Linked DNA regions of Homo sapiens: all the other regions are linked to region 1. The links are contacts of gene promoters, found by promoter capture Hi-C in blood cells and fetal thymus (Javierre and others, 2016). All regions are on one chromosome and are shown on one strand. Each heading gives the region's core, a stretch centred on a gene start or on the middle of the fragment in contact. The rest is flanking DNA. Distances are from core to core; before and after follow the strand shown.

Region 1 (2,500 bases), core at 1-2,500:
CTTCAGGTCACCTTTATGCTCCCAGATGGTATTCAGCTAGCAGCAGTCTACACTTCAGGCATCCATCTTCCACCTGAACAAAAATTAGAACTGGCTAAGAGAAACCATACACTTAAGGCTAGCAGGGTCAAGATCACGCGTGGAAACGTAAAAGCAGCAACTGTTACTTATGCAGCTCCTACACCAAAGGTATCAAATTTAAGGGCAGGAAAAGGCTGCAAAGCGTTTAATTTACGCCTTTTTTGACACCACATTCACTAGTTTCCAAAGTGAATGGGCAACACAAAGGCTGACACTGCGTGAGGTAGGCTTTATGGCATAAGGTTGCTGACTGGCTGACAGTAATGCCGATTACAGCCTAAAAACGGACAATACATTTCAGAGAAATTTTCTCACGATTTAAAATCCGACTTAATAATGAAAAGTGAAATGCGATGCGTTTTAAATGGCGACTGGTCTTGCACGAACGTGAAAACTCACCTGTAGGGTAGGTGATCACTCCCGACGAGCACCGCACGTGGAAACAGCTGTAACCAGGCACGCTGCTTTTAAGTTATTTTATACGGGGGCAGGGCAAGCATAAAGTCAGTTATACGGTAAGGCCTTTTCACTGACGAAAATAAAACCAGGCTTATCTGGAGAACTCCCTGGCATAGTCGATGATGTAAACACAAATCGACGAAGCTCCCCGTTTCCAAACGTGGGAACGCAGGCCTGAGGCCAGGCCGCTGCCCTTGTTCACGGCCCCGGACACTTCGGACACAGGCCGCCGCAGTCGACTCACCAGACTCAGGGTGGCCGCGTTCCCCCGCCCGGCGCCCCTGCGTGAGAGACCACGCGGCCACAGCCAGGCGCCATCCCAGAGGACCCAGAGCAAAAACCACAGCAAGCTCGCACCAAAAGGAAGAAAGGACAGGCTTCCGTCCCACAATGCTTTTCTACAAGTGGAAGGACCCACTGTCCGAGAGCGCGAGGGGGGAGCGGGCTGTACCATCGGCCGCTGCGCTATGGCGAGACGCCGCCGTGTGGCCGGAGGGAGAAGTGCCAGTGAGGGACCGAGGGGCGTGTCACCAAAGGGAGGAGGAGCCTGGGTTCTCAGCCCGAGTCACCTCTGCGGATGTGTGGCCAGTTCTTTCCACAGAGGAGGTATCCAGACATCCCCCCACCCGACCAGGGTCAAGAGCATATGATCAGTGCTGGCAGCGGCAGGAGCCCAAAGGACTTTAGACCACGTATTTTGGGACCCGACAGAATTCATGAGTCCAGCTGAGGAAGAGTAGAGTCATTCATTCGAAAGATATTTAGTCAGCACTTACTATGCTCCAGGCCCTGGCCTGAGTGCCTGGGAATCAGGTGTGGGTGAGCCAGGCAAGGTTTCTGTGGTACATTCTGCTTGGGTGAGTAGGCCACTGACCAAGTGAGCCCGGATGCTGAAATTCTACAATGTAAGTGCCAGGAGGGCAGCAAAAGAGGGTCATGCCATAGGGTAGCGCTGTCCGATGGAAACAGTGTGAGCCATGAGTGTAATTTTAAATTTTCCAATTGCCACATAAAATGTGAAAAGAACGCCGGGCGCGGTGGCTCATGCCTGTAATCCCAGCACTTTGGCAGGCTGAGGCAGGTGATCACCTGAAGTCAGGAGTTCAAGACCAGCCTGGCCAACATGGCAAAACCCCGTCTCTACTAAAAATACAAAAATTACTTGGGCTTGGTGGCGGGCGTCTATAATCCCAGCTACTTGGGAGGCTGAGGCAGGAGAAATGGCTTGAACCCGGGCGGGGTGGGGGTGGAGGTTGCGGTGAGCCGAGATCATGCCACTTGACTCCAGCCTGGACAAAAGGGCGAAACTCCGTCTCAAAAAAAAAAAAAAAAAAGTAAAAAGAAACAGATCAAATTAATTTTAATAATAACCCAACATATTTTAAATATTTCAACAGGCAATCAATATGAGATTATTAATAAGATATTTCTTTTATATCTACTAAGTCATAAAAATCCGGTGTATATTTTATACTTCCAGCACATTTCCGTTCAGACTAGACACATTTCAAGTGTTCAGTAGCTCATGGGGCTAGGAATAGGAAGACTGGAAGTGAACTCCGAGCAGATGTGTGAAGGCGGTTATGCAAGATCTGGAGACAGCAGGCCTTGGCCAGTGTGGCTGGAGTCGAGTAAGGAGTGTAGAGTGACAAGATGCAGCTGGAGAGCCAGGCAGGAGCAAGGCACTTAGGGTCTTGTCACACAGGGCAAGGTGTTGGGATTTTATGCTGAAATCTTAGAGTTGATTAATTATCACCACAAAAATTAAGCAGAGTTTGTTAATTGGCTTTTTTCCTGATAACCATAACTCCTTGAAGGGACAGGACAAGTGGCAGCAAGACAAGTTGTATGATAACAACTAGGTCTCCATGTTTCTCTAAGTCCTAGCAGAGATTCATCCAGAGACCAGTTTTAGCACCTTTCGTTGTTTCTTTGAAGCCTACTTCTATAAAAGAAAGAA
Region 2 (3,810 bases), core at 615-3,114, 940 kb after region 1:
AAAGGTACAATAAAAATATGGTATAAAAGGTAAAAAATGGTACACCTGTATAGGGCACTTACCATGAATGCAGCTTGCAGGACTAAAAGTTGCTCCGTGTGAGTGAGTAAGTGGTGAGTGGATATGAAGGCCTAGGACATTACACTACTTAGACTTTATACATACTGTATGCTTAGGCTACACTAAATTTATTTAGAATAGTTTCTTTCTTCAATGGTAAATTAACCTTAGTTTACTGTAACTTTTACTTTATAAACTTTTTAATGTTTTAAAACTTTTTGACTCCTTTATAGTAATGCTTAGCTGAAACACAAATACAAGGTATTTTATACAAAATATATTGTAAAGCTGCACAAAAATGTTTTCTATGTATCCTTATTCTATAAGCTTTCTTCTTTTTAAAACAACTTTTTTAACTTTTTGAACTTTGTTAAAAACTAAAACATACACACACACTAGCCTAGGCCTACACAGAGACAGGCATCGATATCATGTCTTCCGCCTCCACATCTTGTCCCACTGAAAGCTGGAAGGGCTTTAGGGGCAATGACATGCATGGAGCTGTCATCTTCTATGATGACAATGCCTTATTCTGGAATACCTCCCGAAGGACCTGCCTGAAGCTGTTTTACAGTTAACTTTTTTTATAGCTAGAGGAGAAAACTCTAAAATAACAATAAAATGTATAGTGTAGTAAATACTATACTAGTATTTACTGGTAACATAGTATAAACTAGTAACATAGTCATTTATTACCATTATAAAGTATAATGTACTATACATAATTGTATACACTATACTTTTATATGACTGGCAGCACAGTAGGTTTGTTTACAGTGGCATCACCATAAACACATGAGTAATGTATTACACTGTAAGATTAGGCTATGATGTCACTAGGTGACAGAAATTTTTCAACTCTATTAGTCTTGTGGGACCACCGTTACACATGCAGCCCATTGTTGACCAAAATGTTGTGTGACACATGACTGTACAAAAACTATTCCTCATGATAATTTTATAATGATGAGCACAAACTCAATGTACAAATGCTCTAACAAATAACAAGTATATGCAAATTCATACAAATTCACTTACATACTAGCTTGTTTGGTGAAAGACTGAAAATGCCCACGTGATGTTACTTTTCAGAGAATAGATTCACTAATCGTGTTGAAAAATCAAGTTCACAAGCAAAGCAAGATAATAAAGCTCTCTAAATTCTAGCTTTGACTCAGTAAGTTTCCCTTGGCTTGCACTGACCAGTGGACAAATGGGCATGAAATAGTTGCTAGGCCATTTTTATTCTCACTTCTTTGAGGCAAGTCCAGCAGCAGCAGCACTGCATGTAAATGCTTGTCTGTTCTTAGCAATTCTTTTACAACATAAGCCCAAAGCAAGCATGTTACATTAAAGGAGATGGTAAGCCTTTTTTCTCCTGCTACTTTAGGTAACAATGGTGCAAGAAAGCCATTTCATGGTACAGAGGTGATTATAGAATTCATTTTATATTCAGCATAATTTTAGTCATTTGACATCTATGCTTTTCATAATTGACTTTTGTAAAAATGCTATTAATTGAAGTTTAAAAACAGGATATTTTGTATAATCCATGCAGCTTACTTTCATTTGAGACATAGATAAAAATTAATAAATATTAAAATAGATGAAACAGGAATTAAATATACAAAATGTACCATTACTTCTTATCAAAACTCAACTGAAATGACCAGAAAAGGAACAGGGTTATCATCCCACAAAAAGAAAGAGAGAAGTGATGTCAACTGAATCTTGAACACGTAAACAAACAGTAACAGAGGAGTTAATAAATCAGAAACCTAGATTTGCAATGGGAAAAGCCAATAAGAAGAAATCTAATCCCTACTATAAAATCAAGACATGTTCAGAAGTTAGAGTACCAGATAGTTCTCAAGGTGAGGCATAGAACAGAGAACAAAACATTGGTTAAAAAATTTTATAAAAAGTTATTAGGCCCCTTCATCCAAATTAGAAAGGAAGAAGTCAAATTGTCCTTGCTTGCAGATGATGTGATCTTATATTTAAAAAAGCCTAAAGACTCCACCAAAAAAAAAAAAAAAAAAAAAACTATTAGAATTGATCAGTCCAGTAAAGTTGCAGGATACAAAATCAACATATGAAAACAGTAGCATTTCTGAAATAGAAAATGAAAAAGTAATCCCATTTACAATAGCTACAAATAAAACAAAATATCTACGGATAAACTTAACCAAAGAAGTGAAAGATGTCTACAATGAAAACCGTAAAACATTCATGAAAGAAATGGAAGAGGACACAAAAAAATGCAAAGATATTTTATGTTTATGGATTGGAAGAAACAATATTTTTAAAATGCCCACACCACCCGAAGCAATCTACACATTCAATGCAATGTCTATCAAAATGCCAATGACATTCTTCACAGAAATAGGAAAAATAATGCTAAAATTTATGTAAAACCACAAAAGAAGCCAAATAGACAAAGCAATCCTGAGGGGAGGCCAGGGCAGGGGGAAGCTGGAGGTGTCATATTACCTGGTTTCAAATTATAATACAAAGGTAAAGTAACCAAAAGAGCATGATACTGGCATCAAAACGAATATATAGGCCAGTAGGACAGAAGAAAGCACCGAGAAATAAATTCATGCATTTACAGTCAAATCATTTTTGAGAAAGGCACCCAGAACATACATTAGGGAAAGGACAGTCTCTTCAATAAATAGTGCTTGGAAAACTGGATGTCCATTTGCAGAAGACTGAATCTAGACCCTCTCTCTCACGATACAAAAATCAAGTCAAAGTGGATTAAATACTTCAATCTAATACCTGAAACTATGAAACTACTAGAAGAGAATATTGGGGAAACACTCCATTTCATAGGTCTGGGAAAGATTTCTTGAGTAAGGTCTCAAAAGAACAGGCAACCAAAGCAAAATGGACAAATTGAATCACATCGAGCTAAAGTTTCTGCACACAGCAAAGGAAACAATCAAAAAAACTGAAGAGACAACCCACAGAATGGGAGAAAATATTTGCGAACTATCCATCTGACAAGGGTTTAATAACCAGAATATATAAGAAACTCAAACAACTCTACAGGAAAAAAAATCAGATTGAAAAATGGGCAAAAGATCTCAACAGACATTTCTCAAAAGAAACATACAAATAGCCAACAACTATATAAAGAAATTTCTATTCATCAAAGAAATGCAAATCAAAACAAGGAAATATCTCACCCCTGTCTTTCTGATAAATGACTTTTATCAGAAAATCACCTTAGAGTGAAACCTACCATTAAACAGGCTCAGTGACCCAAAGCTTCTAATGAGATACAATCTTTCTAATAAATGACTTTTATCAGAAAGACAGGCAATAATGAATGTTGGTGAGAATGTGGAGAAAAGGGAACCCTCGTACACTGTTGGTGGGAATATAAATTAGTACAGTCACTGTGAAGAACAGAATGGAGGTTCCTCAAAACAATAAATAAATTAAAAATAGAACTAACATGTGGTCCACAATCCCACTGCTAAGTATATATCCAAAAGAAAGGAAATCAGTATATCAAAGATACATCTGCACTCTCATATTTATAGCAGCCATGATAAAGAATCAACCTGAGTATCCATCAGTGGATGAATGGATAAAGAAAATGTAGTATGTATACACAAGGAAATATTATTCAGCCATAAAAAGAATGAAATCTTGTCATTTGCAACAACACAGATGAAACTGGAGGACATTAAGTGAAATAAGCCAGGCACAGAAAGACAAATATTGCATGTTCTCACT
Region 3 (3,810 bases), core at 889-3,388, 920 kb after region 1:
TTTACAAATTTCTTTATAAATTTATATAGCTATAAATATAAAATATAAAAATAATTTATATTTAATATAAATAGAAAATATTTATAAATAAAAATAAATGAATCAATGTGTGTGTATGTAATTTGCTAGGCTATATCCTACTATTTTTACATATGTACACATACACTACATACATACATACATATACTATACATATCAGTAGTAGCTGATATTTAACAGGTGTGTACTATGAGCTGGGCATAATATATATATGTATTTTATTGGTTCTGTTTTTCTCTACTAAACTCTGATTGATAAAACATCCCGAGGAACTAATGTTTTCCATAACCTTCTTCAGGAAACACAATAAATTCCCATCTTCTACAGCAATAAAATCCTATCTTCTGCAGCACATCATAACTATAATGAGATACCAGGAGCTGTATGCTGGAACCCCACTTAATTTAAGGGATATAGTAAACATTATTGGTTGCTGCTCAGCATGTTTTCTAACAGCATGCACACACACTCACAAAAGTTGGGGTTGCCAAAGTCCTAAAAGTAGACCCTGAATGACATAAACCAACAATTGTAACCTCATCCCTGCTGTCTCTGGTTTGTTTAGGTGTGGTGGTAATCTGGGCCTAGGTCAATTAGTGTACAGACATCCCCCTGGCCAGGATGGTGGATTCTGCTTCATTAAACAATAGGAGGATGTAAAGATCCTTACTGTCCTGGATGATGATGGTTGGCTGCCAGTAGGAGGACTTAAATGCTGCATTTTGCTACCATGAGGGAAGCTGGTATGAAAACAAAACCAACACACCTGGGAGAGCAAAGCTAAAATAAATGCAGAGAAATAAATCTGTACCAAGTCGAACTGCATGTAAAACCTGAAAAAGTTCTGGACTTTAGTGACTTGAGCCAATAAATCTATTCCATTGGTTAAGATGATCTCAGCTAGGTTTCTTTTGGTGCTTCAGTATTTACTTATTAAATTACATTTGTACATTAAAGCATCCTAACTGATAAAAGGGAACATAGAAGCAGTAAAAACTGGGAATATAAGAATACAGAAAGCCCTTCTTGGGGGTAGACAGACTGGGCAGGGCAGTGGCGAAAGAAAAAGTGTGTTAAATGAATAGGTGAGCACAAGCTTTGTGCTTTCCAGCTATTCTGAGAATATGTACAAATACATTTATGTGAACAAACCTCAAACATCAGTGCTCCTTAAACATCTCGAGAATTCGATGAAAGCTGTGGTGACTTGCTTCAGAAAAACACGTCCACACATAAAATATAGCTTTCAATTTCAGAAGCTTCATATAGTCCCAAAACCTAGTCACAGGAAGATCTATGGATTAAAGTTAGAAATCCCTGCTCTATATGGTGGCTGGCAGAAAAATAATGTTAACATCAATGCTTTCTATAAATGGTTATAGAAGAATAAAAATAGAAACATGCTTTGGCTGAACACAAGTTATACAAACTGCAGTCATTTGTGAGAACCATTTACTCCTGTGGCTGATAGGTTTGTTCACATGATTATGACGTACACACCCAACAGTTTTGTGTTAAGTTTTGTTTATATCAGAAAATTTGTCCATGAATGCGCAGCATTTTATGGCACACACAGCAGTCATCTTACCACTTTCAAAAAGTTAAGGCAATCTGTATTATCAACAAATTTACACACAGTTAACAGGTTTAAAATATTAGATCAGGGAATCAGTTGGAGAAGTCAAGTGAAACTCATTTGCTGCTATTTAATGGAATTATGAGAATAAAAAACCAAATTGAAGGGGTCAAAGTAGAGCTGTTTGAGAGAAATATGAACATGGTAGTTGTAACTCATGTCAGAGAAAGTAGACCAAGAAAGGAAGAAAAGATATGGCAGAAAATGTATTAGTATCCACATTTTTCAGTGCAAGCTTAGATATAGGCATGTGAATAAAAGACAACACTTGCAATTTTCCCTTTTACCAATAATAAAAATTTCTGCTATTATTATCAACAATAAATTAAAATAATTTTTCTTATCAGTTAAAGAAACTTAAAGCTTTACTTGACAGCCTATCACCATAGTCAGTGAAATTACTGACTGGGGTAAAGAAGAAAAGAGAAGAATATGTATTTAATGCAAATTGGGTGCTGGCAGTATTAATTGAAATTAAGAATAAATATCAAAGATATTTCTCTTGTAAATAACTTATGGAATCAATATGTCCCCAACTGTAAAAAAGTAAAAAGTAAGCTTAGTCCTGTAACATGTGCAAGCCCCATAAAAGTACTACCTCCATGTGAGTTTTGCTAAATATTCTAGTAATATATTCATCAATCCATCAATATATTCATCATATTCATTTCTGCTAAATATTCTAGCAATATATTCATCAATCCATCTGCTCAAACGTTCACTTTTCCTGGAGTTAGAAAGAGTCAGAAAGTTAGAAACAAAAAAGGATTTATTTTATGTTATGTTATATTATTTATTTATTTATTTTATTTTTAATTTTTTGAGACAGAATCTCGCTCTGTCACCCAGGCTGGAATGCAGTGGTGCGATCTCGGCTAACTGCAGCCTCCACTTCCCGGGTTCAAGCAATTCTCTTGCCTCAGCCCCCCAAGTAGCTGGGACTACAGGCACGCACCACCATGCCCGGCTAATTTTTGTATTTTTAATAGAGATGGGGTTTCGCCATGTTGGCCAAGATAGTCTTGATCTCCTGACCTCGACATCCGCCTGCCTCAGCCTCCCAAAGTGCTGAGATTACAGGCGTGTGCCACTGCGCCCAGACTATTTTATGTTATATTTTAATATAGGTCAGCTTTTAAAAGTGAGTGGGACACTAGCATATTTAACTAGTATCTTCAAAGAGGTATGACAAAGAATATCTCAGCCCCAAATCACTCATAGACCAGAAGACAATGCAAACCAACATCAAGGCTAGAATTCTTAACTGTGATTCCAATACATTTGAGGACAAAGATTTTTTACAAGGTGAACACTCTCCAAAATGGGAATGAAGACAAGTATAAAATATTCTGCAATGTTTAATAATTTTTGATGCATTTCAATTTTTAAGACATATCCTCTGCAAAAAAAAATAGTAAGCAAAACATACAAGGTAGAAAATAGTGCATATTTTTAAATCTAAATCTGTAATAGTTTCTTGGAGATACAGAATTTTGTATTCTGAAATAATTCAGGAAAGCTGTAGGAGGAATAGCTGGGAATGGTTTAAGCCCAGCTTTCTGTAAATGGCACTTGTGAAGAAAGGAAGTACGTCAGAGACAAAAGTGCAGAAGACCAAGGTTCTGGTTCCATTTCTACTACTAACTAGTTTTGAAGGGCTGGAAAAGACAGGTGACTTCTCTGTGCTCCGGTTTCTTCATCTGTATTAAAAAAACAAAAACAAACAAACAAAACACTGGACTGGTTGAATTTTAAAGTTCTATCCAGCTCTAAGTTCCTGAAAAAATCTAAGTCAGAATCTTAAGAATGGTGAAGATGAATGCATGTTGCATTCGTGCAGCTATAGGCACAAGATACAGTCACAATATCTTCAGTATTTTTTACATTACGAGGCTTGACATTCCCCAGCAGTGCCCCTTTGTAAACACAGGAAAGAACCGCCGGCTAGGAGACTCCCAGAGATACTTGCCTGAATCCTTCCTCATCCTCTCAATAGGCTTCAGAAGGTGCAAAAACAAACAGACAAAAAACAAGAAGATATTGGCAGAGAGGGAAATTGGAGCCTTTCCCATGATAGGGCTAGTAAAATTTCCAGTTAGGTTAACTCAGTCATGATAGAACCTATAACTGGCAGG
Region 4 (3,810 bases), core at 771-3,270, 820 kb before region 1:
TAAAATGCATAAAAAATATTGGAAACAAAAAATAAAGATCACAATCTCATAATCCCACTATTGGTTGATGTGCGTCTAGTCATTAACCCACATACACATATCAAATTCAGTTTCTTTTTCCTTTTTTTTTTTTTATTTGGGACAAGAAACTAAATGCCTTTTCAGTGGTTCATTTGAATCTACCATACTTCAAAAATTATAAATCTACCATCACCAAAGAAGTACAGCGCCATTTGTATTAGTTGCAAAATTAGGCTATTTACTTTTCTGTATGTACTTTTGTGAGGTTTAAAACGTTAGGCTTATTACTTCTCCTTGGTATGAGAGAAAAAGCACAGGCACTGGAAAGAAAAAGGAATAGGTGTGAAATCTTGATTTTGTGAATTAGGATGAATGTGACCTTATGTAAATTACAAAGTTCCTGAATCTGTTTGCGCAGATGAAAATGGAAATATACTAACTGCACCTACCAAACACGGCTGACTGAGGATTAAATAAAACAATACATGTAAAGGTAGTGCCTGGTGCACAGTAGAAACTCCAGGCCGGGCGCGATGGCTCACGCCTGTAATCCCAGCACTTTGGGAGGCCGAGGCGGGTGGATCACGAGGTCAGAAGTTCGAGACCAGCACGGCCAAGATGGTGAAATCCCGTCTCTACTAAAAATACAAAAATTAGCCGGGTGTGGTGGCGGGTGCCTGTAATCCCAGCTGCTAGGGAGGCTGAGGCAGAGACTCGTTTGAATCCGGAAGGCAGAGGTTGCAGTGAGCCAAGACCGCACCACTGCACACCAGCCTGGGCAAAAGAAAGAGGCTCCGTCTCAAAAAATAAAAACAAAAAAACAAACAAACAAAAAAAACCCCAAAAAACTCCACAAACACCAGTTCTTTACTTTCCATTAAAAAAAACTGCATGAAGGAGATACAACTACTAAAAGCCTGCCTTTTAAAACATAAACACAGTAACTGTGAACGAAAAGGTGTTATCACTTGTAATCACAATCCACACACACTTGGCGACAACTCCGGGTATCACTGCACTCCAAATTTTACCTTCGGAAAATAAGCATTTTTAAGTATCCTACACGTGTTTGGCTATCTGAAATCAGAGTTGACAAGGGGGAAGAATGCAGAAAATTTCTCATCTGAAGTATACACCCTGAGTTAAAACCCCGCGGTTGAGAATTTCCTTTAAAATAGGATTATTAAGGATAAAAAGAAAAGCAGCGCTACACTTTTTCCCTCTCTCCCCCAAAGACAAGTCCAGGGATGAGAAAAAAAAAGTAATTCCTTACAGGAATTTACAGAGAACGCCACGGACAAATAACACGCAGGCGTCAGAATAAGTCCGAAAATTTGCTCCTTGCGCAGGTCCGCGTACCTGGGATCCTAAGCCTTAAATTACTACCCTGGGGGTCTTCCTTCAGAATCGGGGAATGAGACACAGGGAGGAGGGGGTGCACGGCGTGGAAAAGTCACAGAGGCAGAAAAAACAATGGGAGAGGGAGGCGGCGGCGGCGGCAAAACGCTAAGACCCAGGCTCCGGCGAAGCGGCTACGCCTGCGGGAAAGCAAAATAGTTGAGTAACTTAAAAAATGAGGAAATTCCGGGTGTTCTGCGGGGAAGGACGGAGGGCCTTGAGAAACAGGGAGGCTGCGGCGGAAAGAGGGGCGGTGTCGTCGGAGAGCAGGGTCGACGATGGAAAGCGAGCAGCGGCGGGAGCGGAAAGCGAGGACATGGACGTGGGCGGGGAAGAAGACCCAGAGGCCTCTGGGGGTCCGCGAAACTGAGAAAACCCGACGGGGGCGAAAGGGGGTCGGGTAGCGCGGTACCTGCAGAGATCGTCCAGGACGCTGCCGGGAATCTCCACCCGTTTGGTCTCCATGATGAGGACCCACAGCAGGAACAGTGCATCCCGGCTCCGCGCGGCCGGGGACTGACGGTACGGCACTAGGACTCCGGCTCGCCGGAGAGCTGGCAGCCGAGGAAGCCGCGGCAGAGACGACTCCAACGGAGACGAGAAGGGGAAGGGGCGGGACCCGCTCACTTCCGTCCCGCTCCCTCAGCCTTGGACCCCAAGACTGGGCCAAGGCTCGGGGCGGAGCCCCCGGAGTCACGCCCCTGCTCGCTTGAAAGGCCCAATGGGAAGCTGAAGAATTGGGACTCTAAGCACTCTAAGCCAATGAGACGTTTGTTTATTGGTCTGCTACTTCCAATCCGTCTTCAAGCTGCTCAGTTGCTACTCAGAAAACCAACTTCCCGCCGCCTTTGAGGTGGCTACACGCATGCGCACCATGCCTCCTGCGCGCTTCTGGGAAGTTCAGAGGGGTCGGGGCTTAGGTGTAGACCCCGGACACATATCCGGGACTTTGGCATGTTGTGCAGGACCTCGCGGTGACTGAGCTCTTTCCTCTGCAGGGCCGACCCTGAGAATCCGTACAACACAAGAGTATGCTCGCGATTCCTGTCACCAAGTATCTTGCACTTATCGCAGCCCCCACCAACTCCAGGCCAAGAGCTGTGCCTCTTTCACTACAAACCCTTGGAGAGGGTATCCATTTTGGAGGTGGCTCTCCTCTGTGCTTCCTTAGGCACCTGGTTCCAAACATGAAGACAAGGACTTTATCTCAGTATCTGGCACCTAGCAAAATCTTAGAAAATACTGATTTAAGCTGAACTCTGATCTGTATTCCACCCTCTGCACAAAGCAATCCCCACCTGCTCGTCCTTATTCATTCCTCGTCTTGCTTAATGGAGACCAATCCATTTGGGATCTTTGGAGAAACTAGATCCATCTGTTCTTTTTCCTCTTACATCAGACCCACAGGCCCACACACACCTGCTCCGTCACAAGTTTAGTCTGTTCTACCATTTAATCTCCCATCTTTTGTCTAAATTTGTCACATGCCACTGTGTACTTCAGTTTTGCATCATTTCTCCATACTACAGTGAGAGCTGCCTAACCACTGACTCTGCCTCCATTCTTGGCCTGTGCAACTGCCTACATTTTGTTTTGTTTTACTCAGATAGGAACAAGTTATCTTTTCAGTTTCTGCTGTATGATCAAGCCCAAGTTCCTTTGGCATAAGAGGCCCGTCACCATCTATTTTGCTCCCGTTTTCCATCTTTTTTTTCCCCTCTTTCTTGGAGAATTCCTCAAATTTATCTTCCTGACAACTACAGAGTTTTTACTTATTTAGAGTTCTGTTTTGTTCTTCAAATGCCCCTTTCTTGTGGTGTCACATTCTTGCTTTGTATATTTTATTTTATCCTTCTGAGGATATTAATAATAGATTTTGACGTTTTCTTCTCCCTGAGTAGTCTTATTCCTCTCAGCTGCTTTTTGCTATTATCTTGATCTCATCTATCCTATTAGAAGCCTCTGTAGTCCTTGACTATTCACTCACACTTAAGAGTAAGGCCTTAACCTGGAGTCAAGTGCCTTGAAAGCTAATTGGAAGCTCTCACCTTGTAGATGGTACTTGTTTCCTGAGAGCTTCACTGTAGGATGATCTGGCTGAGCTGTTGGTTGGAAACACATGGTATCAGTATCTGTACGTAATTCTTTCTGCTGATGAAATTCCCTAAAGAGAAAATGCTTCCAGGCACAGCTTCATGTATTCTGGGAGTCCAGTACAGAAGCACAGGCTGCAGTATTCCATTTGCTTTATTCAGTACTCCCAGCACAGTCCAAGTCTTATTTTAGATTTCCTAAGAAGCAGGCACTGAGACAAGATTTTGAGTGCAGATAGCCTGTGAGGGAGGTGATCTTGGGAAACATTGGTAGGAGAGCAGGAAAGTGAGTCAAGGA
Region 5 (3,810 bases), core at 716-3,215, 690 kb after region 1:
CGGAGTTCTATCACCCAGGCTGGAGTGCAGTGGCAAGATCTCAGCTCACTGCAATCTCCGCCTCCTGGGTTCACGCCATTCTCCTGCCTCAGCTTCCCGAGTAGCTGGGACTACAGGCGCCCACTACCACACCCTGCTAATTTTTTATATTTTTAGTAGAGACGGGGTTTCACCACGTTAGCCAGGATGGTCTCGATCTCCTGACCTCATGGATCCACCCGTCTCGGCCTCCCGAAGTGCTGGGATTACAGGTGTGAGCCACTGTGCCCGGCCCCTCTCAAGCTTTTCTAAAGACACAAGGAATTGAGCACACAAAATATCTTTTTGTATTACATATTAGTGGATGGCTATTTTATCAGTTGCTTGTTAAACCTTTCTGTCTTGGCGATCAACCATTGTATATCAGGTAAATTAGAGTTTGCTAACGTGCTTGTGGGCCCTACCACAGTTAGCCCATTCCTAGTCCATATCACCTGGATATTGAATTTTTTAAGATCACTATTAAGTTAAAAACAACTTTAATTAAAAGCATTCTGCTACGGACTGAATTGTATTCCCCCCTCCAACCCCAAAATCCATATGTTGATGCCCCAGCTCCCAATGAGATAGTATTTGGAGATGGAGCCCTTGGGAGGCAATCAGGTTTAGATGAGGTCATGAGAGTGGGGTCTTCCTCATGGGATTAGTCCCCTCATAAGAAAAGAGTACACAGAGCTTGCTTTCTCCTTCTCCCCATCATGTGAGGACACCGTGAGAGGGCGGCCATCTGCAAGCCAAGAGAGGGCCCTCAGCAGAAGCTGACTGTGCTGACACTCTGGTCTTGGACTTCCAGCCCCCGAAAACTGTGAGAAAATAACTTTCTGTTATTTAAGCCACCCAGTCTATATATTTTGTTATGTAAGCCCAGGTAGACTAGTATACCTACTTTCAAACCCTTCAAAATTTCTCTAAATTGGAATATTATGCATTCCAACAACTAACTTTGTAGTACTCTCTAAATGGCAACTAAGTCTCCTTGTTTTGAACTAAACTCTTGAAAGCATCGATATCTTATTTTCTAGTTGTTCTACAGTATTCTTCCATCTCAGACGCTCTTCTATTTGGTTGATTTTTTTCATCACCACCTGCAGTTCCACCATGTCTTTGGCAAATTTCATGAAACTCCTTATTTCTTATTAGACAGGAGCTCAGGAATGGATGTGGGGATACCAGGGATTAAAATATTTCACTCATTTTTTTTCCCAAGAAATTTGTGTAGGGTGTTAAATTTAAGACCCTTGAAAACCTAACAGAAATAAGAAACAAAATTGATAGCTAAAAATGCATTTAAAATATTCCTGATAAGAAATATACCAGTTTGGAATTGCTTAAGAAATTAAATAGTCATTTGCCCATTTAAAAGGACTAAATCTAATAATTTCATATAAGATGCAAATAAGTAAAACAAGAGCAAGTTTACACAGCTGGTCTTGGGCTCATATTCTTTACTAGTGTCAAGTAATAAACTGTTCCCTAAATCTGCTGTATATTACATAGTGGATATAGACATAGGAAAGCCCTGGACAAGAATTCCGGTCTCAAGAAAATTCCAAAATAAAAAGCAATGTTCATTTTCAGGAAATTCTATCACTAACTGCATTTAGTATGTAACAGAAAATCACAAAAAGGCAAAAAGTAATCTTTATGGTTTTTATGAGCATTAGAGGTATCTAGAAAATGTCACAGCAAGGTAAATAGTTTACATAAATATTGCTTTTCTTCACTTACAAGATGTAGGTGATTATTCCTACAGACCACATGTCCACCTCAGGTCCATAGGCACAACCTCTAAGAATTTCAGGTGCTGCAGAAAAAGTGAAAATTGTGTTAAATTAGAGCTTAGTCAATATTTATATTTTAATATCAAGCAATGGGAAAGAAATAAATTCATCAAAACAATTTCTGAACAGTTTTATAACCAATCTTCTCTCCCCAAACCACAGTATGAAGCTATAAATACTTATGTCTATTTTAGTAGGAGAGATTATAGTCTATCTGTTTTGGGATGCATAAAATAACACTATTAACTTTAATATTCTATGTCAGAATATCATGATACTGCTCAAATCAAGTAGATAGAGCTGTATGTATGCTACAAAAGACGCAATACTTCAAAGGGAGTTTTGTACATAGAAAACAAAGAAATGAAAGTTAAGCATAACAAGGGAGAAAAAAGTCACAAGCATGCTGCCTTGAGATCTAGACCTGCTGGGAGCAGGGTGTGTCAGCGAGTGTGTGGGTCTGACAGTGTGCAGGGTGGGAACCAGTGTAGGTGGTGAGGAGGGTTGACAAGTATCTAGTCTAGACGGTTGCAGCAGGAGCTAGGAGGTGTCCTGGCACATGTCCTGGCATTGAGAGATGCATGTAGGTCTCCAGAGAGCAGCTGATCCCAATCAGCTTGAGGTCATGAACTGAGAAAGGGGAACTTATCTGTGCACAGTGAAGCAGCTTGTATTAGTTCTGCCCGCTGTTGTGAAAAAGGAAGGCTTTCTCAGCCATAAAATAGCCCTGGTGTGGAGAATAGCAGTATCTTTTATATTTTTATTACCTTAGATTTGTGAAAATGGGTAATTAACTGGATCCAGGCACTTTCCCTGAGTACTAAGGGTGTTATTTGTTTGCCTAATTAACAACAGAAGAAAAGGGAAAGTAAGAGCCCCACCATCTATGGAGAAATAGAGCTCAGGCCTATTGTCCAGAGTGGCCTTTCTTGATTTTGAACACAAGTGCGGCAGGTGCCAGCAGCGTACTTGAAGAAGGAGCTTCTTGATTAATGCTGATGGCTGCTTGAGGAAGGCCTTGGGGATGAGGACACCATACCATTCTCTGGGATAGGGGTTGGAATGCAAGTAAACAGGATTCTCTGTCCATGCTGGCTGGAAATGTCACATTCAGTGTTGCCTATCAAGATGAGCTCTGGGGCTGGGCACAGTGGCTCACACCTGTAATCCTAGCACTTTGGGAGATCGAGGCAGGTGGATCACCTGAGGTCAGGAGTTTGAGTCCAGCCTGGCCAACATGGTGAAACCCTGTCTCTACTAAAAATACAAAAAAATTAGCCAGGCATGGTGGTAGGTGCCTGTAATCCCAGCTACTCGGGAGGCTGAGGCAGGAGAATAGCTTGAACCCAGGAGGTGGAGGTTGCAGAGATGGCGCCGCTGCACTCCAACCTGGGCAACAGAACAAGACTCTGTCTCAAAAAATAAATAAATAAATAAATAAATAAGTGAGCTCTGGAGGGAGGCTATCCTCATGGGACTGTGGATTTACCATACAGGAAGGAATACTGTGGGCATTCCACTGACCTCTTCCCTAACTATCCCTTAACTCTCATCATGTTCCAATTTCCCTGTAGAAGCTGGGTTACATAAAATATGAGGAGTCTTCAAAAGGTCATGGTAAATGCATATTATAAAAAATTATGCATGAATTTCACAATTTTTTGTACCAAAATAAACTTGTACTAACTTGTCATAACATGTCCAAACAGGATCTAGTCTGAGACACTAAAAAGGCTAAGACTTCAGTTTGAAAAGAGCCTCTATCTGAGAAACATGAATTCTGCTAAAATTGAAGCAAGAACAAACATCAAATTTATGGTAAAGCTTGGGTGGAAGAATGGCGAAATCACTGAGGCTTTATAAAAAGTTTGTGGGGACAATGTTCTAAAGAAATTAACAGTATACAAGTGGATAACTCATTTTAAGAAGGGATAAGACAATGTTGAAGACAAAGCCCACAGTGGCAGATCATCCACATCAATTTTTGAGA
Region 6 (3,810 bases), core at 820-3,319, 670 kb after region 1:
TACTATGGTTTGAATATTTGTGTTCCCCTAAAACGCAGATGTTAAAATCCTAACCTCTAAGATAATGGTTTTAAAAGCTTTGAGAGTTGATTAGGTAACCCTAATGAATGTGATTAGTACCTTTATAGAAGAGGCCCAAGTGAGATGCTTTGGTCCTTCTGCCATATGAGGACACAGCAAGAAGGCATCCTCTGTGAGGAAGCAGGCACTCATAGATACCAAACCTGCAGGACTGTTCTTGGACTTGTGCCAGAAATGTCAGAAATAAATTGTGATAAGCCACCCAGTTTATGGTATTTTATTATAGCAGCCTGAATGGTAGTGAGAGCACTGGACTAGGAGCTGGGCAACCCTGGTCTATTCCTTCTTCAGCCACTGTGACCTTAGGTAAGCCATTACCTCTCTTGGGCATAATAGCTCTCTTTAATAAAGTGAGCTTATTGGATTAAATGATTACTAATATCCTCTTTTAACTCTAGTGATTTTATAATTTTACTCAACAGAAAATATGTGAGCACTCAGTGTTAAAAAAAAGGCTATGAAACTCAAAGTATAATTTTATCTGAGAGAATGGGAAAACACTCAAGGAGTGATTCAACTGCACATTTCAGGTGTAAGAAAAATGTCCATGGTGTCTCTCTTGAATTGTGGTAACATTTGAAATCACAGAATGCAAAGTTTTGGTGGTTTCTTAAATGATTTATTATCGTATTCTACATGCCAACTGCTTTACATTTCCCAGCAGCAAGATATAGGCTTCTTTGGGCATGTTCTGACATGTCTGTCTGAGTGAACTTACACCAAGTAACATTGGCCCTCAGGTCAAATTTCTACAATTAGTCTTCCAACACCCATTTTTTATAATGTCACGTACTCTTCAAGTTCCTAGAAAACACCCCCCAACCCCCCCCAAAATTTACATATTTAATTACTGAATTGGGTTATCCAACCTGAATCCAAGAAGAAGCCACAGCTCTCATGTGGTCTGCCTCAGGCTTTGGGCAGCTGAGACAGCCCATGACTGTTGTGTCCCATCTGTAAGAAGTAGAAACTCACTGGTCAGTCACCACCATTGAAGAATACTGTAGCTCTACAACAGCAAATGGGCATGATTTTGATGAATTCTCTACAAACATTTTCTGTATGTACATTTATGCCCAGGCCAGACTTAATACATTTACCTAAAAATATTGTAATATATCTTTGTATTAAGTAGTCAATAGCACCATATTGTCAGGTTTTAAAAATGAAGTGTTCACAGCTCCATTTTCAGTGCTCTTCAAATTAGAAGTTGGGAAGGTAGCCTATAATCTTGGTTGTGTAAACTTAAAATATTTATACTTTGTCCTCCAAATCTTACATGCTCTTGTGTTTGGCTACTGACTTGCAGCCTAAACTATTGGAGATGTAGCTTTCCTGTATGCAGTGCTGTTCCATTAATCTAATCCTCTATGCTGCTATTGAGCTGCTTATATCCTTTTAGTCCAGAAAGCTTTCAGCAACCCAGGAATAAAAATTTCTCCTTTAGGAAAGACTAGAAAACACATCCAGATAATGTCACATAAGCCTGAAAAGCCCAAGTAGGAAGTTTTCCTTTCTCAATGTCTGCTAACTTACGATTTTTGTAACCTCACAGTAATTCTACTTCTCTTCCATCATTCAAATGACAGTCAATCTTGCTCCCTATCTTCCTTCATTTGTCTTCAGGAATAATGCCGCCATTCACTAATCACAGGCATTATCTGAAATAAAGAGGCAAGACAACTAAAAGTACACATACTAAATGTCTAAATGTCTCCCAAGTTTCTTGAAGATGGATGTAAAAATACTGCCTGCAATAAATGATATCAAAAGGAACTTACAAAACAGTATGTAAAGGGACAAAAGGGAGAGATGAAAAAGGACTTGACAGGAGCAGGTTGATGTTTGGAGAAACAAGTTCTGATGGTTTTAAATTTTGTTGCCTGAGACTTAGCTTCCTACAGGTTGTCTTTTAAAATCTAAACTTTCAGGTAGAATTCAATCAGAAATCCTGGGGGATTGCCTATTCAGGTCAAATAACTGAAAAGGTTGAAAAAATGAGGTCAGCAATAACCTTGATTCGGTCCTCCACTGGCAACATTTTAGGAAGTACGTGATTTTTTGGAGTCATGAGACATTTTTCAGAAATTGGAGTCTTGGAAAACTTGAAATTATCTGTCATACTATCATTTACTCTGTTTTGTCAGTGGAGACCTGGCCAATTCAGTTTTTGCTTTCAGTGACTGAGGCTTTGCTTTAACCTGGTGACTCCCAAAAATATCTTCGATGTGTTTGATGATTTTTATTTGGCTTAGAAGCACAGCAGATGAGCCAAGTATGTCAGGCTAGATGCTCTGAGGAAAGGCTGCACATGGACCTACCCAGAGTAAGGAAGGAGTAAGGAAGTCTAATTCAATTTTGCACGAGATGAGATTCTGTTGCACACTGGCAACACTTCCCTGTGTATTTCAGCCTTTCACATTTAGTATTCTTCCTTCACCTCTGCCTTTCATTTTTCCACTCTATGATCAGGCCGGTTCTCAGCCAGACATGCCCCCTACTTCTTCCCTACCTGCAAAGATTCACCCATCTTTCACATACAGCCTGTGTTTCCATAAAGCTTTCCTTCATCATTCCTGGCAAAAGGGAGCTTTTCCCTCTTTCCATTCCTAGGGCTTATCATCTGCCTAAATGCAGCATAGGTTATATATGTACAGGTTGTATCTATAAGGTTGGCTTTTCTCTCCAACTACAAAGCTCACTCCTGGAGGATAGCATTGGATTTAATTCATCTTTGACTCCTCCATGGCATATAATAGTTTCTCAGTGAAAGTTCACAGGGAAAATTGTTCCTGGAGGGGGCTGCTCCTGGGAAGCTTCAAAATTAGAAAATCACTTCCTTACAATGTGATTAGAATGTAGGCCTAATATCCCCTAAACTATGTTGTTTAGTTTCTGGGAGAAACATTAGCTATTGACTTCATTCATTTCTAAAGTATTTGTCCATCAATGATCGTCTTCAAACTGAGCAATCAAGAAGATGGGCAGGGGAGAATGTGGAATCCTAATCTACATTTTGTTATCTTTCCCCTCACTCATTCCAGTAAAGTCTCTGCTACACATAATGATGCGGACTGGCAGAAGATTGATATCTTTTGTTCTGAGTTCTACAGCGAGTGTATCCTAGTGGCTATATTATATTATTGATTGCTGTAATAATAGAGCAATAATATTGCTGTATATTATTTAGAGTTATAATTTTAGGTACTCCTAATAAATTGATATTGCACTTTCTACTAAATATTTCATTTGTGACCTTTTGGTTACAGATGTTGAAAGTCAAACGGAAACACAAAGGTCATGAATGCCTATGTTTTTCTCCATATCTCGGTCACTAGCTTCCCTTAAGGTGGATATTTTGGAATGAACAATTTCTCTGTGACAGAAATAGACTAAGACAAGGGCCCTTCTTGGATTTCTAAATATGTAAGGAAAGCAAACGAAAGCATTTACTCAAGGCCCTCTCTTTTCAAAGAAATAAAATACGTAACACTCAGGAAAGCGTGGGGATTAGAAAATGGCTTTCTTACATAAAAGAGCTGGCTGTTTGCGTATTCCCTGAGCTATTGTTGAGAAAGTCATTGTCATATAATGCCACAAAATAAAACATAATATTTCCTAAAATGATTAATGAAAATTCAATTGATATAAATTACTTCAGAATATTATGAGAGATTCAGAACCATAGGGATCTTCTTATTTCTTAGCTTAGTAAGTAACAGCTGTAGA
Region 7 (3,810 bases), core at 742-3,241, 630 kb after region 1:
AATTCAATCATGTTTCCATGGCCTTGAAGAGACATGACCTTTCTCATGAGGGAACTAGAAATACAATTCTTCGATGACATCATTCCAAACCTCTATGGATATAAACAAAAATCTTAAACTTGAAGGACATCCAAAGATATAAAACACCATGAACTAGCCTTAGTAAAGTATACTAATGGCAATGTTTCCCCAGCATCAGAGCCTAATGTCACACCTAATTAATAAGATGTCAGCTACAAAAGAGCAGGGTTTTTTAAAGCATCTAAATGTGTACTCTTATTTCTTTTTCTTATACAGAAGATATTTAGGAGGAAACATTTTAAAAACTAATATAAATAACAAACCTCTCACAAACAAGACTCCAATCACAGACTCAGACTTAAAAGTGCTAAAGAAACGTCTTATATATTCTTCCCTTGAGAGTCCATCTTATGTATTTTTATCATACAACTTATTTTCAACCTAGCAGACATATCAATCCCCATGTGAATAAATCAGATAACCATATTAAAAATACTCTGTAATTGAGAAAAACAAGGCAATGAAAAAATAAAGGGACTTGGGGGAGAGGTATTTGCAAAACAGTGGGTCATAAGAAAAATGTTTTATCTTGAAAAACCTACCCTCTTTGTACTTAGAAATTGTTCTTATGTTCTAGCAAGAACAAAATGAATTTAAATGCACTTTATCATTAGACATGTATATGATGCTATTTTCTTGTCATCTGGTGGTCTGGACATAACTGACTTTCTGAGAATTGGCCAATAAGAGTTTGAAGACACATATTAACTCTTTTATGTGAAGAGATTCATATAATAAACCATTGGTGCTGTGTACAAAACACTAGTCTAGTGACCAACAAGGATAACTGTCGGTCCACAATTGCTAAAATTAATCTCAGGAATAGAATAAAGCACTTGGCAGATATAAAATATCAACTACACTATACTCCATGTTTTGGGTGTGCTTGTGAGCCAACTGAAATTCAAGGTAATAGGCTGTGTCTAGTCAACAATACAATAGGAAAAGGATGTTGGCATGGTATTTTCAGCCATCTGGATGGCTAAATAAGATTACTGCTAAGAGCTAACTAAAATTGTCTGGTAGATGTAATCAAAACAGATACAATTCAGAATAACTCAGACCAAAAGAATATTTCCTCCTGTTAGAGTCATTTTAAGAGGAATTTGAAATCAATGCAAACCATGTCTTCAAGGTTTTCCTTCACCATGTGAAAACAAAGGCTCTGCCTGTATAGAAATAATGGTAGAACTATATAAAGGGCAGTTGGTTTTTCAGCTGATGAGCAATTGGGAGCTACTTTATTACTCAAACTACTTTTCCAGGAGCTACCATCAAAGCACTCATGAAGGTTCTTCTTTGTTCTTACCATCCATGGGTGTTACTAAAAGAGAAAGTAGAAAACTTACTGTCACAATGGTGAGAATTTGGCCAAAAATCACCCAGTCTTTGAACTGAGCTTAAACTAAGTAGTAGTACATAACATTAGAATTCTGGTCACTTAAATTAAGGACGTTTGTAAACTATTCAAATTAACAAAACAAAGCAAACAAACAGGAAAACAAGTTATATGTGATAGATGGATGGGGGAAAAGTGATAAAATTGGCCAGTTTCACGGAAAGGTCGAATAGTGAGAGTAGTCAAAATAGCCTGTATAAGTTACTAAGATTTAGTTTATTTTAACAAATATTTATTCTGCATTTTCAACCATGCAATCATCATTGAACTAAGTGATGAAAAAAGACATTGTCTCTTCCTTAAATGTCTTAAATATATAAATTGATACTTGCAGTTTAGTTCCATACATTGGAGTTGAATGTATGAACAAGAATCAGAGTTTCTGTAGATGTTGGAATACAATATTGGGTATAGGAGAAGGAAAGAGAATCAGAAAGTGGGCCACATTTTCTATGACTAAAGATGGAATTTACAAGATGGCTTTAATATTCCCTTCAGCTTGACTAAACTTTAGACATGTTTCTTTCTGATTCTAGGCCCTTGACCTCTCCTTCTTAGAACATTGACTTTAGAATATTTGTAAGTTATTTATCTGCCCCCTTTGAGATATAAATCTTTTAAAAAGCCCCTTGCCAATTGTACAACTCAGAACTGTCCTTCTCAAGGACCTTGGAGCCATTCCACTGAAATGTAATCATCAAGGAAACTGTGCCCTATCTTCCAGTCTCTGTGGGAGAATAAGAGCCTAACTTCCATGGAGACAATTAGTAAGCTCGGGTGAACTAATCACCAAGAAAACCATTTGCAAACTTAAATAACTCAATTTGCTAGACATATCCCATTGATAAATCTCCTTCAAACATCCTCCAGTATTTTTCTACTAGCTCACCTCAGCTCTTAAAATACCTCCTGAGTTCAGACTTCGTTCTGGTCTCACTCCCTATTGCAGTAGCCTTGAAGAAAGTCTTCCTTGCCTGTTTCACTTTGTGTGGTACAATTTTGCTTTGACAATAGAGAGTCAACAAATAGACAAACAGAGGGGACCTTTCCAAGCAGAAAGCACAGCATTGGTGAAGACCTGGAAACATCATATTTTACTATGTATTTGTGGAGATCTAGATCTAGACATATTTGCTACATCTGTGAGGCTACCATCCTGCCTGCCTACAGCAGCCTTGTGTGCATTTGTATCTGAAGATTTTTCACCTCTACTTCATTGGCAGTACCAGGATTCAGATCCTGCTTCTGAGAATCCCATCCATTGCCTTCTACTCTCTCCCTCCCAGTCTGGAAGACTCTTATTTAAGATCTACATTCTCACTCTTGTTGTACTGCATTTCCCTCTGTTCCCTGCATACAGTCTGTGAGGCAAGTAGCTCTGAGTACAAATCACCCTGCTACAGTCCTTCCCTGGGGTTAGAAAGTAGAGCTGGTTAACTGTCTTAATAGGGAATAAGAATAACGAAAAATTTAGGCAGAAAACATAAATTTTGTGGAAGATATTAACTTATCAGACCAAGTCCAGCCTGTCTCCAAAGCAGTTCTTAATGCCTGAGATTTATTTAGAGGTCTCATATCTGTGATCCCAAAGCCCCACTCCACTCAGCATAATGGGATCTCTGTTCTGGGGTACTCCTGACACTGAGTCTAAAGGTGCAGAATTTTCTTCAGTTTGTTTCTTCTTTAGATCTGTGATGAGAACTCTTCAATGTCCACTCACTCCTTCCCATCTTCTTGAAGAAAAAAATCCTAAGGCGTCTTGTAGTAGTATAGCTCTGCCATTCTATAGAGGGAAATTAGGCCCACAGAACTGTAGGAAAAAACCTAAATGCACGAAGTTTGTCAATTATACAGTCTGGATTAGATGGATTAGAATCCATAACTTTTTTCCTGAGACAAGATCTTGCTCTGTCACCCAGGTTAGAGTACAGTGGCACGATCATAGCTCCCTGTAGCTTCCAGGTCCTGTGCTCAAAAGATCCTCCCACCTCAGGCATGTGCCACCATGCCTGGCTAAGAACCCATAACTCCTTATTTGTTTAGTGCTTGACCTCTCTAAACTATACCCTGAGTATCCATGGGCAACTTGCATGATCATTTGAGGTTTCAGATTTTTTACCTGTAAAATGTGATAATGGTAGCCACTTCACAGGACTGTTGTGAAGAGAAACAAAGTGGGTGAGTACTTGGTGCAGTCTGACAGTTTGTGTTCTACAAAAGCTAGATCTCTTGCCAGTTTTCTTTTTGCCTTTCTCTATCATAGCATTCACCACACTGCACTGACATCATTTATTTATGTCTCTTTCTCAATTCATTGCAAGCTCCTTTGC

Evidence for each region. The method cuts DNA at HindIII sites, captures the fragments that hold promoters and counts their contacts. A CHiCAGO score of 5 or more calls a contact.
Region 2: a contact is called between a fragment that was not itself captured here and the fragment with the promoter of EPB41L4A-AS1 in region 1, in 1 of 17 cell types (fetal thymus). The highest score is 6.2, in fetal thymus.
Region 3: a fragment that was not itself captured here is called in contact with the fragment with the promoter of EPB41L4A-AS1 in region 1 in 1 of 17 cell types (fetal thymus); the score reaches 5.2 in fetal thymus.
Region 4: the fragment with the promoter of DCP2 here is called in contact with the fragment with the promoter of EPB41L4A-AS1 in region 1 in 7 of 17 cell types (naive B cells, activated CD4 T cells, naive CD8 T cells and 4 more); the score reaches 8.2 in naive B cells.
Region 5: a contact is called between a fragment that was not itself captured here and the fragment with the promoter of EPB41L4A-AS1 in region 1, in 2 of 17 cell types (M0 macrophages and erythroblasts). The highest score is 5.7, in M0 macrophages.
Region 6: a contact is called between a fragment that was not itself captured here and the fragment with the promoter of EPB41L4A-AS1 in region 1, in 6 of 17 cell types (M1 macrophages, erythroblasts, M0 macrophages and 3 more). The highest score is 8.1, in M1 macrophages.
Region 7: a contact is called between a fragment that was not itself captured here and the fragment with the promoter of EPB41L4A-AS1 in region 1, in 16 of 17 cell types (megakaryocytes, total B cells, fetal thymus and 13 more). The highest score is 12.8, in megakaryocytes.

What each region holds. Positions count from the first base shown.
Region 1 is chr5:112,159,276-112,161,775 of GRCh38, reverse strand. It overlaps EPB41L4A-AS1 (EPB41L4A antisense RNA 1), which reads right to left and starts at 1,250. Exons shown (of 3, transcript NR_015370.2): 1 at 481-1,250; 2 at 1-73. SNORA13 (small nucleolar RNA, H/ACA box 13) reads right to left here and starts at 291; the gene lies at 159-291. It also overlaps a transcript of EPB41L4A not described here. RefSeq lists enhancers at 446-495, 606-655, 676-775, 551-1,283, 1,156-1,365 and 1 more. The HindIII fragment of the contact is 7,805 bases long and covers 1-2,500 here.
Region 2 is chr5:111,218,395-111,222,204 of GRCh38, reverse strand. No RefSeq gene overlaps it. Among named protein-coding and RNA genes, the nearest start is that of CAMK4, 4.1 kb to the left of the region's middle. The HindIII fragment of the contact is 2,949 bases long and covers 390-3,338 here.
Region 3 is chr5:111,243,548-111,247,357 of GRCh38, reverse strand. The region is part of intron 1 of CAMK4 (calcium/calmodulin dependent protein kinase IV); the gene reads right to left. Among named protein-coding and RNA genes, the nearest start is that of CAMK4, 21 kb to the right of the region's middle. The HindIII fragment of the contact is 195 bases long and covers 2,041-2,235 here.
Region 4 is chr5:112,975,008-112,978,817 of GRCh38, reverse strand. It overlaps DCP2 (decapping mRNA 2), which reads right to left and starts at 2,020. Exons shown (of 11, transcript NM_152624.6): 1 at 1,832-2,020. The coding sequence starts at 1,884. RefSeq lists enhancers at 1,570-1,679, 1,790-1,839, 1,850-1,939, 2,010-2,059, 1,595-2,354 and 2 more. The HindIII fragment of the contact is 6,686 bases long and covers 1-3,810 here.
Region 5 is chr5:111,471,344-111,475,153 of GRCh38, reverse strand. CAMK4 (calcium/calmodulin dependent protein kinase IV) reads right to left here. Exons shown (of 11, transcript NM_001744.6): 8 at 1,768-1,843. Among named protein-coding and RNA genes, the nearest start is that of STARD4-AS1, 39 kb to the left of the region's middle. The HindIII fragment of the contact is 3,362 bases long and covers 285-3,646 here.
Region 6 is chr5:111,491,755-111,495,564 of GRCh38, reverse strand. It overlaps CAMK4 (calcium/calmodulin dependent protein kinase IV), which reads right to left. Exons shown (of 11, transcript NM_001744.6): 11 at 679-3,810. Among named protein-coding and RNA genes, the nearest start is that of STARD4-AS1, 19 kb to the left of the region's middle. The HindIII fragment of the contact is 1,149 bases long and covers 1,495-2,643 here.
Region 7 is chr5:111,533,603-111,537,412 of GRCh38, reverse strand. All of the region lies in intron 1 of STARD4-AS1 (STARD4 antisense RNA 1), which reads right to left. It overlaps LOC124901042 (a long non-coding RNA gene), which reads right to left. Exons shown (of 2, transcript XR_007058899.1): 1 at 1-3,810. Among named protein-coding and RNA genes, the nearest start is that of STARD4, 23 kb to the right of the region's middle. The HindIII fragment of the contact is 7,282 bases long and covers 1-3,810 here.